3 separate regions of the Homo sapiens genome follow, and all the other regions are linked to region 2. The links are contacts of gene promoters, found by promoter capture Hi-C in blood cells and fetal thymus (Javierre and others, 2016). All regions are on one chromosome and are shown on one strand. Each heading gives the region's core, a stretch centred on a gene start or on the middle of the fragment in contact. The rest is flanking DNA. Distances are from core to core; before and after follow the strand shown. Region 1 has its middle 23 kb from the start of LINC01690. Region 2 holds the start of IFNAR1 (interferon alpha and beta receptor subunit 1). Region 3 has its middle 19 kb from the start of EPCIP.

Evidence for each region. The method cuts DNA at HindIII sites, captures the fragments that hold promoters and counts their contacts. A CHiCAGO score of 5 or more calls a contact.
Region 1: a contact is called between a fragment that was not itself captured here and the fragment with the promoter of IFNAR1 in region 2, in 1 of 17 cell types (non-activated CD4 T cells). The highest score is 5.2, in non-activated CD4 T cells.
Region 3: a contact is called between a fragment that was not itself captured here and the fragment with the promoter of IFNAR1 in region 2, in 1 of 17 cell types (total CD4 T cells). The highest score is 6.0, in total CD4 T cells.

The regions. Positions count from the first base shown.
Region 1 is chr21:32,933,595-32,937,464 of GRCh38, reverse strand. No RefSeq gene overlaps it. Among named protein-coding and RNA genes, the nearest start is that of LINC01690, 23 kb to the left of the region's middle. The HindIII fragment of the contact is 897 bases long and covers 1,625-2,521 here.
Region 2 is chr21:33,323,396-33,327,191 of GRCh38, reverse strand. IFNAR1 (interferon alpha and beta receptor subunit 1) reads right to left here and starts at 2,222. Exons shown (of 11, transcript NM_000629.3): 1 at 2,061-2,222. The coding sequence starts at 2,136. RefSeq lists cis regulatory regions at 2,233, 2,290-2,299, 2,790, enhancers at 1,394-2,295, 2,529-2,578, 2,799-3,008, 2,296-3,198 and promoters at 2,211-2,881, 2,235-3,518. The HindIII fragment of the contact is 6,325 bases long and covers 1,303-3,796 here.
Region 3 is chr21:32,830,853-32,834,770 of GRCh38, reverse strand. No RefSeq gene overlaps it. Among named protein-coding and RNA genes, the nearest start is that of EPCIP, 19 kb to the right of the region's middle. The HindIII fragment of the contact is 376 bases long and covers 2,045-2,420 here.

The sequences.
Region 1 (3,870 bases), core at 824-3,323, 390 kb after region 2:
ACAATTACGTGATGTTTTGAGGAACTGCAGCAAGTGTGGAAAGCAAAGTCTATTAGTCCGTTCTCATGCTGCTATGAAGAAATACCTGAGACTGGGTAATTTATAAAGGAAAGATGTTTAATTGACTCACAGTTCCACGGGGCTGAGGCCTCAGGAAATTTACAATCATGGCGGAAGGGGAAGCAAACACATCCTTCTTCACACGGCAGCAGCAAGGAGAAGTGCCGAGCAAGGGGGGAAACGCCCCTTATAAAACCATCAGATCTCGGGAGAACTCACTACCGCGAGAACAGCATGAGGGTTACAGCCCCCATGATTCAATTACCTCCCACCTGGTCCATCCCATGACAGATGGGGATTATGAGAACTACAATTTAAGATGAGATTTGGGTGGGGACACAGCCAAACCATATCAGGAGGCTTTTCAAAGGAAACCTGGCTATCAATCATTTAGGGAGGGTCTCCACCTGCCAACTGAGAGTTACAGAAGCAGAGCCCTGGGGAGAGGAGCTGGCAGGTAAATGCATGGATGTGAGTCACACAGGAGGCCTCATTTCCAGCCCCAACAATTGTTTGTGACCTGGGCAAATGGCTTAGCCTTTTGCACCTACGTCTGTTAATCTGTGAAATGATGATAATTCCTGCCACGTGGACAACACAAGCAGGGGTTTAGCACCATGCCTGGCACACAGTAAGCTCCCAGTAACTCCCAGTAAGTGGCCGCCACCGCACTTTCCTGATGCCACCATTATTCACAACCATCATCTTCAGTGATCACAGAAGATAGTCCCAGTGACGCAGAGAAGACAGCGAGGCCATGTGTTCACCAAGCTCAAGGAAGCAGCTGGTGAAGGGTCACAAATGCGGCTTCAAATGGTGGAAATGGACTCTGTCACTAACTGGTTCTTCCCCTTATGTGACTTTGATTGAGTCCTCTAGCCTCTCTAGAGGTGAATATGGAGGGAAATGAATCAAACATTGAAATACTCAGCCTATAGGGTGATTTTGAAAATTTAATAGGAAAATATACGAAAGAGCATTCTGGAACATAGTAAAGGCTCTGCAAATAACATTTGAATATAAATAGTGATTTTGTTCACAACCATAAAGGTAGCATTAAACATATATATATATATACGTTTGACACATATCTTGGAGGTTTCACCACAGATTGGAATAATGTGTTCTGTTAATTGGGCCAGTGGTATCATAATAAATTAGCATTAGATTAACTGAAAATATAAAAACAGATTAGCAGAGGTTGCAGTGAGCCAAGATTGCGGCACTGCATTCCAGCCTGGGCGACACAGCGAGACTCCATCTCAAAAAAAAAAAAAAAAGAAAGAAAGTACTTCTGACTTCTGCCTTGCTCCCTCTTGGATCACCATCTAAGAGGGAAGCCAGCTGCCATGTTGTGAGGCCATTCAAGCAGGCTGTGAACAGCCCATGAGGGAGGAATTGAGGTTTCCCACCAACAATTAGCACCAACTTGCCAGGTGTGTGAGTGTGCCTCCTTGGAAGCAGACCCTGCAGCCCCAATCTAGCTTTCAGAAGACTACATCCCCAGGTGACACACGACATGAACCTCAAGAGGGACCCTGAGTCAGAACCACCCAGCTAAGCTTCTCCTGAATCCGTGACCCATGGAACTGGGAGATAAAATAAGGTTTGTTGTTGTTGTTGTTTTGAGACAGAGTCTCACTCTGTCACCAGGCTGGAGTGCAGTGGCCAATCTCTGCTCACTGCAACCTCCGCTTTCTGGGTTTAAACGACTCTCCTGCCTCAGCCTCCTGAGTAGCTGGGATTACAAGGATGTGCCATCACGTTTGACTAATTTTTGTATTTTTAGTAGAAACGGGGTTTCACCATGTTGGCCAGGATAGTCTCGATCTCCCGACCTTGTGATCCACCCGCCTCGGCCTCCCAAAGTGCTGGGATTACAGGTGTGAGCCACTGCACCCAGCCGGTTTGTTGTTGTTTTAAGCCCATAAGTTTTAGGGTGTTTAATTACACAGCAATGGATAACTAATATGGGGAGGTCTAAACCTATAAGGCAGATAGGACAGAGTTCCCAATGAGGAAATATCCCTTGTAGCTATAATCGGAACCTGATGTTGCCCTTTCTAATCTAAAAGACTTCAGCAGAACAGAATTCCTTCACCCTGACACTGTGGGGTTTATTTTGTCAGTGCCCTAAGAAACAAGCCAGTTTTCTGAATTCTAAGCATGTAATCAGCCAACTGGGCTGAAGAAGCTGGGCCCCAAGCCGCTCTCACCTGGAGGGCTGGGGCCTATGACCTAATAATTATGCTAATGCACCTGAAAACATACCGTGAGGGTTGTAGCAAACATGTCCTACATCCCCACTGAAGTTCTTCAACTGAGGACAGCATTAAACTGCAGCATGAGACCCTTTAAGGAAGACCTGTCTGCTGCCTGGCTGGTTGGAGACATGGATCAGTTACTGGGGCTGTGGTGGATCCATCTATGGAATGGGGGGCACCCGAAGCTGCAGGAAGCTTCTGTTAAAGATCAGCAGAGGTTGCCTTGGGTTCTTGATGTCCCCCTGCATACTATAGGTCATGCCAGTTACCTGGGGGACAGAAATACTGAGGAGCTGCCTGTGAATTTCTTTTAAATAAATGGTCCTTCCCATATGAAAATTATCCTCACTGGGAAACTATATCCTTTGAATGCTTTCTCTCCTAAATTGGTTCTCAAACTTGACTATGCATTAGACTCACCCAGAGAATCTACCAAAAATGCAGATTTCAGGAGTCCATTCCCAGCAGCTGTTAGCTAGGCCCAAAAAGATGGCTCTTGTTTTCTAGCTGCTCCCAAGATTTTAATTTGCAAACAGGTTTGAGAACCACTTGTCAGTCAATTTATGTGACAAATCCATTTCAAGTCCCCAGTCAAACATCGTGCTGTGGAAGCCCCCAGACAGGCCTGCCCACGTTACAACAGTACGGTGGGAGACATTGGTCTAACAGCCCCCTTACTAAAAGCATCATAAAGCCTAGGTGTTCACTCTTGCCCAGGGAGTGTTAGAATTCTGTCCCCCGGCTCCCTTCTTCAGGCAGTTAATGAGGGGGTTAAACATAAGAGTTTTGGAATCAGACAAATCAGACCTGGGCCCGTGATACTCAAGAGCTACATACCGGCCGGGCGCGGTGGCTCATTCCTATAATCCCAGCTCTTTGGGAGGCCGAGGCGGGCGGATCACCTGAGGTTGGGAGTTCTAGACCAGCCTGAGCAACATGGAGAAACCCTGTCTCTAGTAAAAATAAAAAATAAAAAATTAGCCAGGCAAGGTGGCGCATGCCTGTTATCCCAGCTACTCGGGAGGCTGAGGCAGGGGAATCGCTTGAACCCGGGAGGCAGAGGTTGCGGTGAGCTGAGATTGCACAATTACACTCCAGCCTGGGCAACAAGAGCAAAACTCCATCTCAAAAAAAAAAAAAAAAAAAAAAAAAAAAAAAGAGCTATATACCATTGGGTCAGTTAACTCACTTGGCTAAGCCTTGGTTTACCCATCTGTAAAATGGAGGTTGGATGATTTTGTTAAGGCTGTCATAACAAAATACCACGGACTGGGTGGCTTCAACAGCAGATTTTATTTTCTCACAATTCTGGAGGCTAGAAACCTGAGATGAAGGTGTCAGCAGGGCTGGTTTCTTCCAAGGCCTCTAACCTTGGGTGTAGACAGCCACCTTCTTGTGCTGTCACATGGACTCCCTCTGTGTATGCGTGTGTCCTAATTTTTTTTCTCATAATGACACCAATCATATTGGATTAGGGTCCCCTCATATGACCTCATTTTAACTTAATTGCCCCTTTAAAAACCATATCTCCTGTTATGGTTACAAT
Region 2 (3,796 bases), core at 973-3,472:
ATGCAAGTTTTTCATAAACAAAAGACTTCAAAGAAATTACTATGGGATGCACCAGGACCCTAGTACCCACATCCTAGGAAAAGTATACTACATATTTGTGGAAAAGTTTGAGAAATAGGATATCATGTACCACACAGGTATATGGTTTCCTAAGCCAACAGGTAAAGTATTTTGAACTCACTTGCAGGCTCACAGACCACCTGGACTCCTGCACTGGGATGCTAGCCCTGATTCTCTTTGGGTACCCCTCCTCACTACAAAATTACCTCTCACTCTCTATCAACCTTGTAATAGTTGCCATTCCCCCATGCATCCCAAGTAAGTATGAAGAATTTCAGCAAATTAGCCTGGTGACGCCCTGCCTTTGTATTTTTCTTTTATTATTTTTGTAAAAGAAAAAAAAAAATCTCAGGACCTCTCCCAACTTTCTTACGCAAAAGGGAAGTTAGTTAAGCCCAGAGGCCAAGTGACTGCAACACCCTCTTCCAAACGAATGGCTGTTACTAGCATTATGCTTCAGCCAAATCCCCAAGGAAGGATAAAAAGACTCAGCCATCTGCGAAGGGCTACCCTGACAGATCATTCATAAGTCAATTCTTTGCTGGTCTCCCATAAACAAGGGGATGCCAACTGTAACTTCAGGTCTACAACCTAAGTCTAGTTCCTAAAACTAAAGTCTAAAACATAAATAGATCGGGCGTGGTGGCTCACACCTGTAATCCCAGCACTTTGGGAGGCTGAAGTGGATTGTTTGAGGTCAGGAGTTCGAGACCAGCCTGGCCAACATGGCAAAACCCCATCTCTACTAGAAATACAAAAAATAGCCGGATGTGGTGGCGTGCACCTGTAATTCCAGCTACTCAAGAGGCTGAGGCAGGAGAATCGCCTGAACCTGGGAGGCAGAGGTTGCAGTGAGCTGAGATCACGCCTCTGCACACCAGCCTGGGCAACAGGCTGTCTCAAAAAAAAAAAAAAAAAAGTATAAATAAAAATGTCTTCCCATATTTTGGACAGTTTTCTTAGTCTTGGGTCCTAGAATTGCATTTACTAGTTTAAAAAGTATGACTATTTTTATGACTTCTGAAAGACTGAGCAACATTACAATCTCATTGAGATAACATTTCATTGAGTTTTGAACATGATTATTTCTTTGGGAAAAAAGTAGGTAGTTAAGTAAACCAAAAATAAAATTCTAAGCCCCCCAACAATGTGAATGGACCTCTCCTCTCAACAAATGGCATTCCAAAGTTAATCTGAAAAACTAGTTCAGGCCTTCCACACTGACCATGTCAATTACAAGCTTATCTTCTCAGGTGCAAAACAAAGTCAAGACTCCATCTACCCAGAGGCATCTGCATAACTGACTCCCTTTACTCTCTTTTTCTCTTCAAGACACTCATGGTATCTTAAAATACAGATTTCTTGGGCACTAACTAAATTCTCACAGAACTATTTGCCTTACTGCCTTCCTGCCCCACCTCCTGAAAACCTCTGGAAAACCAGTCACAGACGTGTTTGTGGCTCACGTTTTTCCCGGATGCGCCCTGAAGCAGGCTTAGTAAACCTCGAGAACTGACAATTATGCTTCAGTCACTCCGACTGTCATTTTTTATTGGCCTGTATGAATCCTGAGGGCAGAGAAATCCTGGCCACACTTAGCTCACTCCCCCGTGGGACTGGGCGCCTATTCACCAGATTGAGGAAATGCATTTCGGGAAATGTTTTGTTTATTATCAAACAGACCAGCGGAGCCGCGGTACTTTCCCGGAAAGAATCAAACTCGACACAAAGCTCTGGCACCGCCATTTCACGGGGGTGGGACCCGGGCGCTCCCGAGGACCCGTACACGGCCACAGGCAAGCGGCAAGAGAGGACCCAGAACACCACTTTCTCCTGGTTGATTTGCGAGCCCAGGTCGGGTTTAATCTTTGGCGCGGCAAAGTGGACCGAAGGTTTCCCAGACTGGGCGTCTGTCGCCCCCAACAGCATCGCCGCCCCCGTAGCCCAGCTGCGTGCCCTACCTCCCGCCCTGCGCCAAGACTCTCCTCCCCGCCTCTCACCTGCGGCTGCGGACAACACCCATGGCGCCACGGCGACGAGCACTAGGGTCGTCGCGCCCAGGAGGACGACCATCATCTGGGAGCCGCCGCAGATCCCACCAGTTACATGTTCGCGCACGCGCAGCTCCTCTCAGCCGCCATCGCCCCGTCCTAAGTCACACCGCCCCTCTGCACACGCGCTGCCCCTCTTAGCTCTCACCGCCCCTCTACGCACGCGCCGCCTCTTCTGACACACACACCGCCCCTCCGCGCACGCGCCGTTCCTCCACGCACGCGCCTTTCCTCCTAGCTAGCACCCCTTCTCCAAGCTCCCATTGCCCCATCCTAATTGCAGCACCCCTGTGCGCGCGCGCCTTAGAAATCGCAGGCCTCCTGCATTCTCTTCTTCCTCACTCTTTCCGGCCTATGGCCGGTCTGGAGCACTTCACCATCGCATTCCAGGACGACTCCCCCTCACAGGAGGCCTTGACCTTCACAGGATCGCGGCACACACCTGCGCAGACCCAGCGACTTTGGAGTTCCCGCGTCTCTTCCCCATGTCTGCAGTCGGAGGGCGCGGGTGGGCTCCTGGTCGCGGCCCGGCGCTCTTCGTCCTCGCCCTTCTCCGCCCGGGGCGCTTGCTGACCCTAGAGTCTTGGACAGTGGCGTTGGGAGTCCCCAGCGGCCTGGGAACCAGATGAGGCTGGAAGGAGGAAGTGGCTGAGCGACCAGACCGTTGCTGTGTGCAGAGCGAGAGCGGGGCAGAGGCGGTCGAGCGCTCGTTTTCCGGGCGACTTGGCTGAGGGGCGAGATGGTCCCTTGGAGAGAACAGCCACGGGCCCTGGGCCGAGGGGCTCCAAACAGCAGTCGCTAGGCTGTTTTGGTCGTCGGGCTTTATCAGTAAACAATTCGAGCCCATGGTTCGAATGATTATTTAATTAAATTCCTCAGTAATAGATCCAGTGCATTGTGAAAATATGCGAAATAAAATTTAAATGATGAGATAAAATAAGGAATCAAATACTTCGTTGTTATAACAACCAAGCAATTAATTAGCAATTACATAATTAAATGAATGTTTGTAAAGAACAATGCAATGGAATATATATGTATTCCATCTATATATTCCATCTCTATATTCCATCTATATATTCCATCTCTATATCCCATCACTATATTCCATCTCTATATCCCATCTCTATATTCCATCTCTATATCCCATCTCTATATTCCATCTCTATATCCCATCTCTATATCCCATCTCTATATTCCATCTCTATATTCCATATCTATTCCATCTCTATATTCCATATCTATTCCATCTCTATATTCCATATCTATTCCATCTCTATATCCCATCTCTATATTCCATCACTATATCCCATCTCTATATCCCATCTCTATATCCCATCTCTATATCCCATCTCTATATCCCATCTCTATATCCCATCTCTATATTCCATCTCTATATTCCATCTCTATTCCATCTCTATATTCCATATCTATTCCATCTCTATATTCCATATCTATTCCATCTCTATATTCCATCTCTATATTCCATCTCTATATGCCATCTCTATATGCCATATATATTCCATCTCTATATGCCATATATATTCCATCTCTATATGCCATATATATTCCATCTCTATATTCCATCTCTATATGCCATCTCTATATGCCATCTCTATATGCCATCTCTATATGCCATCTCTATATGCCATCTCTATATGCCATCTCTATATGCCATCTCTATA
Region 3 (3,918 bases), core at 983-3,482, 490 kb after region 2:
CAAAGAGTGCCAGATGGTTCCCAGCAATATGAAATGATAAGCACAGTGGTACTAAAATGAAAGGAAACCTCTCAATGACTTTCATTTCTTCCCTTCCCTTCCAGTCCTTAAGTATGATGGCTATCTAATTTTATGTAATAATTACAGCAAATATGTGATTTTTTTGTACTTTTTTTCAGCCTAGTATTTTTTAATATTGCTATGTTGCTTTCAAAATAATTATGTTAATGCTAGATACTTACACTCACGTTCCTGGGTTAACATTTACCCTGTTGCCAGACACAGATATAAAGGGATGTCATACTGCACGATCAGCCCCTGGAATCAGAAAACCTCAGCTTTGTTCTGCTTTTATTCCAACAGTGTGATCTGTGTATCTTAACCACTCTGAACATGTCTCTTCATCCATGAAGCAAGGGTCACAACCGCACCTACTTCCCAGGGACACGGTAAAATCAAAGGAAATGATACATGTGACAGCTGCTTGTGAACTGCAGAGCCAGACAAGTGGTAGTTATTAGTAGCTTGTTTCCCAGTTTTCCATGCTAAAAATAAAGATTAAAGTGAACATTTTCAAACACAGAGCATTCAACTCCCTTTAGATGCTTTGTCTAGGATAGATTCCAGAACCTAGGACTATTTGATCAAAAATAAAGAAATAAACATTTTTATGGTTCTTAGATCAGAATTGCTACCTGCTTTTCAAAGGGTTGAACCAACTTACATTGTAACTGGCTACATATGGATGTAGCACTTTGCCAAGACCTCACCAGCATAGCAAAATTTCGTTTTAAAACAGGTTGGCTAATTATATAAGTTGCCACCATTTGCGTTGTTTAACCACTGGTGAAGTCTGAACATTTTTCATATTTCCTTATGAAAAACAAGTGGGCATCAATATGTTTTAAGACCATTTTTAAAATAACACTAATTTCCCAAGGTAGGGAGAAAAAGACCATATCATGTAGAGAAACCAACTTGAGCTTTAAAATGACACTTAAGTACAAAAATGTTTGCAGTACTCTATAGCCAATGAGCTCTCCAAAACCAAGAAACCAAGTTCCCACTTTTGTCCTGAGATATATCTGGCCACAATGATTTATCCATATCTGGGGCCCAATCCTGCCTCTTTGGTCCTTTTCTGTAGTGTGGATATTAGCTTGTGAAGGCAAGCAACAGAGTTGGGGACTGACAGTTTCCTGGGGAAAAACGGAGGCTTAGGGGGCTAGACTTCAACTAATGGACTAGTCGACAAATATTTATTGGGTGTTATTAAGCACTTACTAAAGCATGGCTTCTACTCTCAAAGAAATAGTAAGATGAAAGGGTTAACAACAGGAAACCATCGTAGAACACAGAACATACTTGAAAACCTGGTGATGATGCCCCCTAGCACCCTGGCAGTCAGGAAATGGAGAAAACATGTCGCCTGGAGTGAGCTGGAAAATCTTCAGAGAACAGGTAAAAATTGCTCTGCCGGCCGGGCGCAGTGGCTCACGCCTGTAATCCCAGCACTTTGGGAGGCCGAGGCGGGCGGATCACGAAGTCAGGAGATCGAGACCATCCTGCCTAACACAGTGAAACCCCGTCTCTACTAAAAATACAAAAAAATTAGCCGGGCGTGCTGGCGGGCGCCTGTAGTCCCAGCTACTGGGAAAGCTGAGGCAGGAGAATGGTGTGAACCCGGGAGGCGGAGCTTGCAGTGAGCCGAGATCGCGCCACTGCACTCCAGCCTCGGCGACAGAGAAAGACTCTGTCTCAAAAAAAAAAGACAAGAAAAGAAAAAGGAAAAAAAAGAAATAAGAATTGGGCACTTCATTCCCAGGGGAATTACCAGAACCCACCTAAGCTAGACAGGAAAAGAAATGAAAGTAGAGGTTATCTGTAGTTCATGATGAACTTGCTGTTTCCCTCATTATCACTTGTACTTTCCTCTTGTTTATGTACCTAGGATGACTCCTTTGTCCAACGCTTCACCAAATCCAGCACCATGGACTCAGTCAGATTCCATAGGCGAAGAACAGAAGCTCATGTTAGCAAAGCTTCCTTGTGTGGTATTCTGATTTGATGATCTTTTTTTTTTTTGGAAACATACTATCAAGAGATCCTGTTGGCCATGCAAGGTGGCTCACGCCTGTAATCCCACCACTTTGGGAGGCCGAGGTGGGAGAATCCCTTGACACCAGGAGTTTGAGACCAGCCTGATGAACGTAGCAAGACCCTCATCAGTACAAAATATTTAAAAATTAACTGAGTGTGGTGGCATGCAACTTGTAGTCCCAGCTAGTCAGGAGGCCGAGGTGGGAGGATCACCTGAGCCGAGGAGTTAGAGGCCGCAGCTGAGCTATGATTGCACCACTGCATTCCAGTCTGAGTGACACAGCAAGACCCCATCTCCACAAAACAAACCTCAGAAAGCTTAGAATTAAAATGAAGAAGGTGATTGGGATAAAAAAAATTCATGATGGAGTAAGATAATAAATACAAACCTAAATATACCATAATAATATTAATGGCTCAAATTCCCACAGTAAAAACAGATTAGATTTAAAAATCAGTTATATTTGGCTGGGCGCAGTGGCTCATGCCTGTAATCCCAGCACTTTGGGAGGCCAAGGCAGGTAGATCACCTGAAGTCAGGAGTTCGAGACCATCCTGACCAACATGGAGAAACCCTGTCTCTACTAAAAATACAAAATTAGCCAGGCGTGGTGCCACATGCCTGTAATCCCAGCTACTTGGGAGCCTGAGGCAGGAGAAGAGCTTGAACCTGGGAGGCAGAGGTTGCGAAACTCCATCAAAAAAAAAAAAAAGGCCGGGCGCGGTGGCTCACGCCTGTGGTCCCAGCACTTTGGGAGGCTGAGGCAGGCAGATCATGCGGTCAGGAGATCGAAACCAGCCTGGCCAACATGGTGAAACCCAGTCTCTACTAAAAATACTAAAAAAAATGCTGGGGGTGGTGGTGGGCTCCTGTAATCCCGGCTACTCAGGAGGCTGAGGCAGGAGAATCGCTTGAACCCAGGAGGCGGAGGTTGCAGTGAGCCAAGATCGTCCCACTGCACTCCAGCCTGGGGGAAAGTGCGAGACTCTGTCTCAAAAAGAAAAAAAATCAGTTACATTCTATTTATAAAAGATAATCCAAAACATATGGAGGACAAGGGAATAAAGTGATGAATAAAGATATACCAGACAAATAGGAACCAAAAAAAAAATCTAGGATCGCCACATCAATTTTAGACAAAATAACAATAAAGAGGGTAACTAACATTCTGATTATCTAGAAAAGAGAGTAACTAACATTCTGTTGTTTAGAACAACAATTCTAGAGTAGAGGGCATCATATAAAATAGCGTCAAGGAGGAATAAGTTCCAGTGTTCTATACCATTGTAGGATGACTGTAGTCAAAAATAATATGTGGTTTCAAACAGCTAGAAGGAGGATATCAAATGTCCCCCATACAAACGAATGATAAATGTTTGAAATGATGGATATGCTAATTCTTGTTATTCTGATCACTATACTTTATATGTACCAAAACATCACTATGTGCCCCATAAATGTGTACAATTATTACATGTCAACTTAAATATATATAAAGCAATAATTCTAAAACAAGAGATTCTAAAATTAAATGGAAACATAGTGGGCTAAGAGTAGCTAAGGCAATCTTGAAGAACACTTCGGAGCTATTAAAATTTATAAAAGACCTATCATAAAACTCTAGTGGCCAAGACAGTAAGGTATCGGTACAAGAATGAAAAAAAACAATAGAACAGAATGGTGAGTTGAGAAACAGACCCACATATATACAGTCATCCAATTCATAAGAAATTGACAATCAGACAATTAAATTTGTTTAAAATCTTGACCCCTGACTCACACCAAAGATGAAAATCAATTCCAGACAGATCATAGAT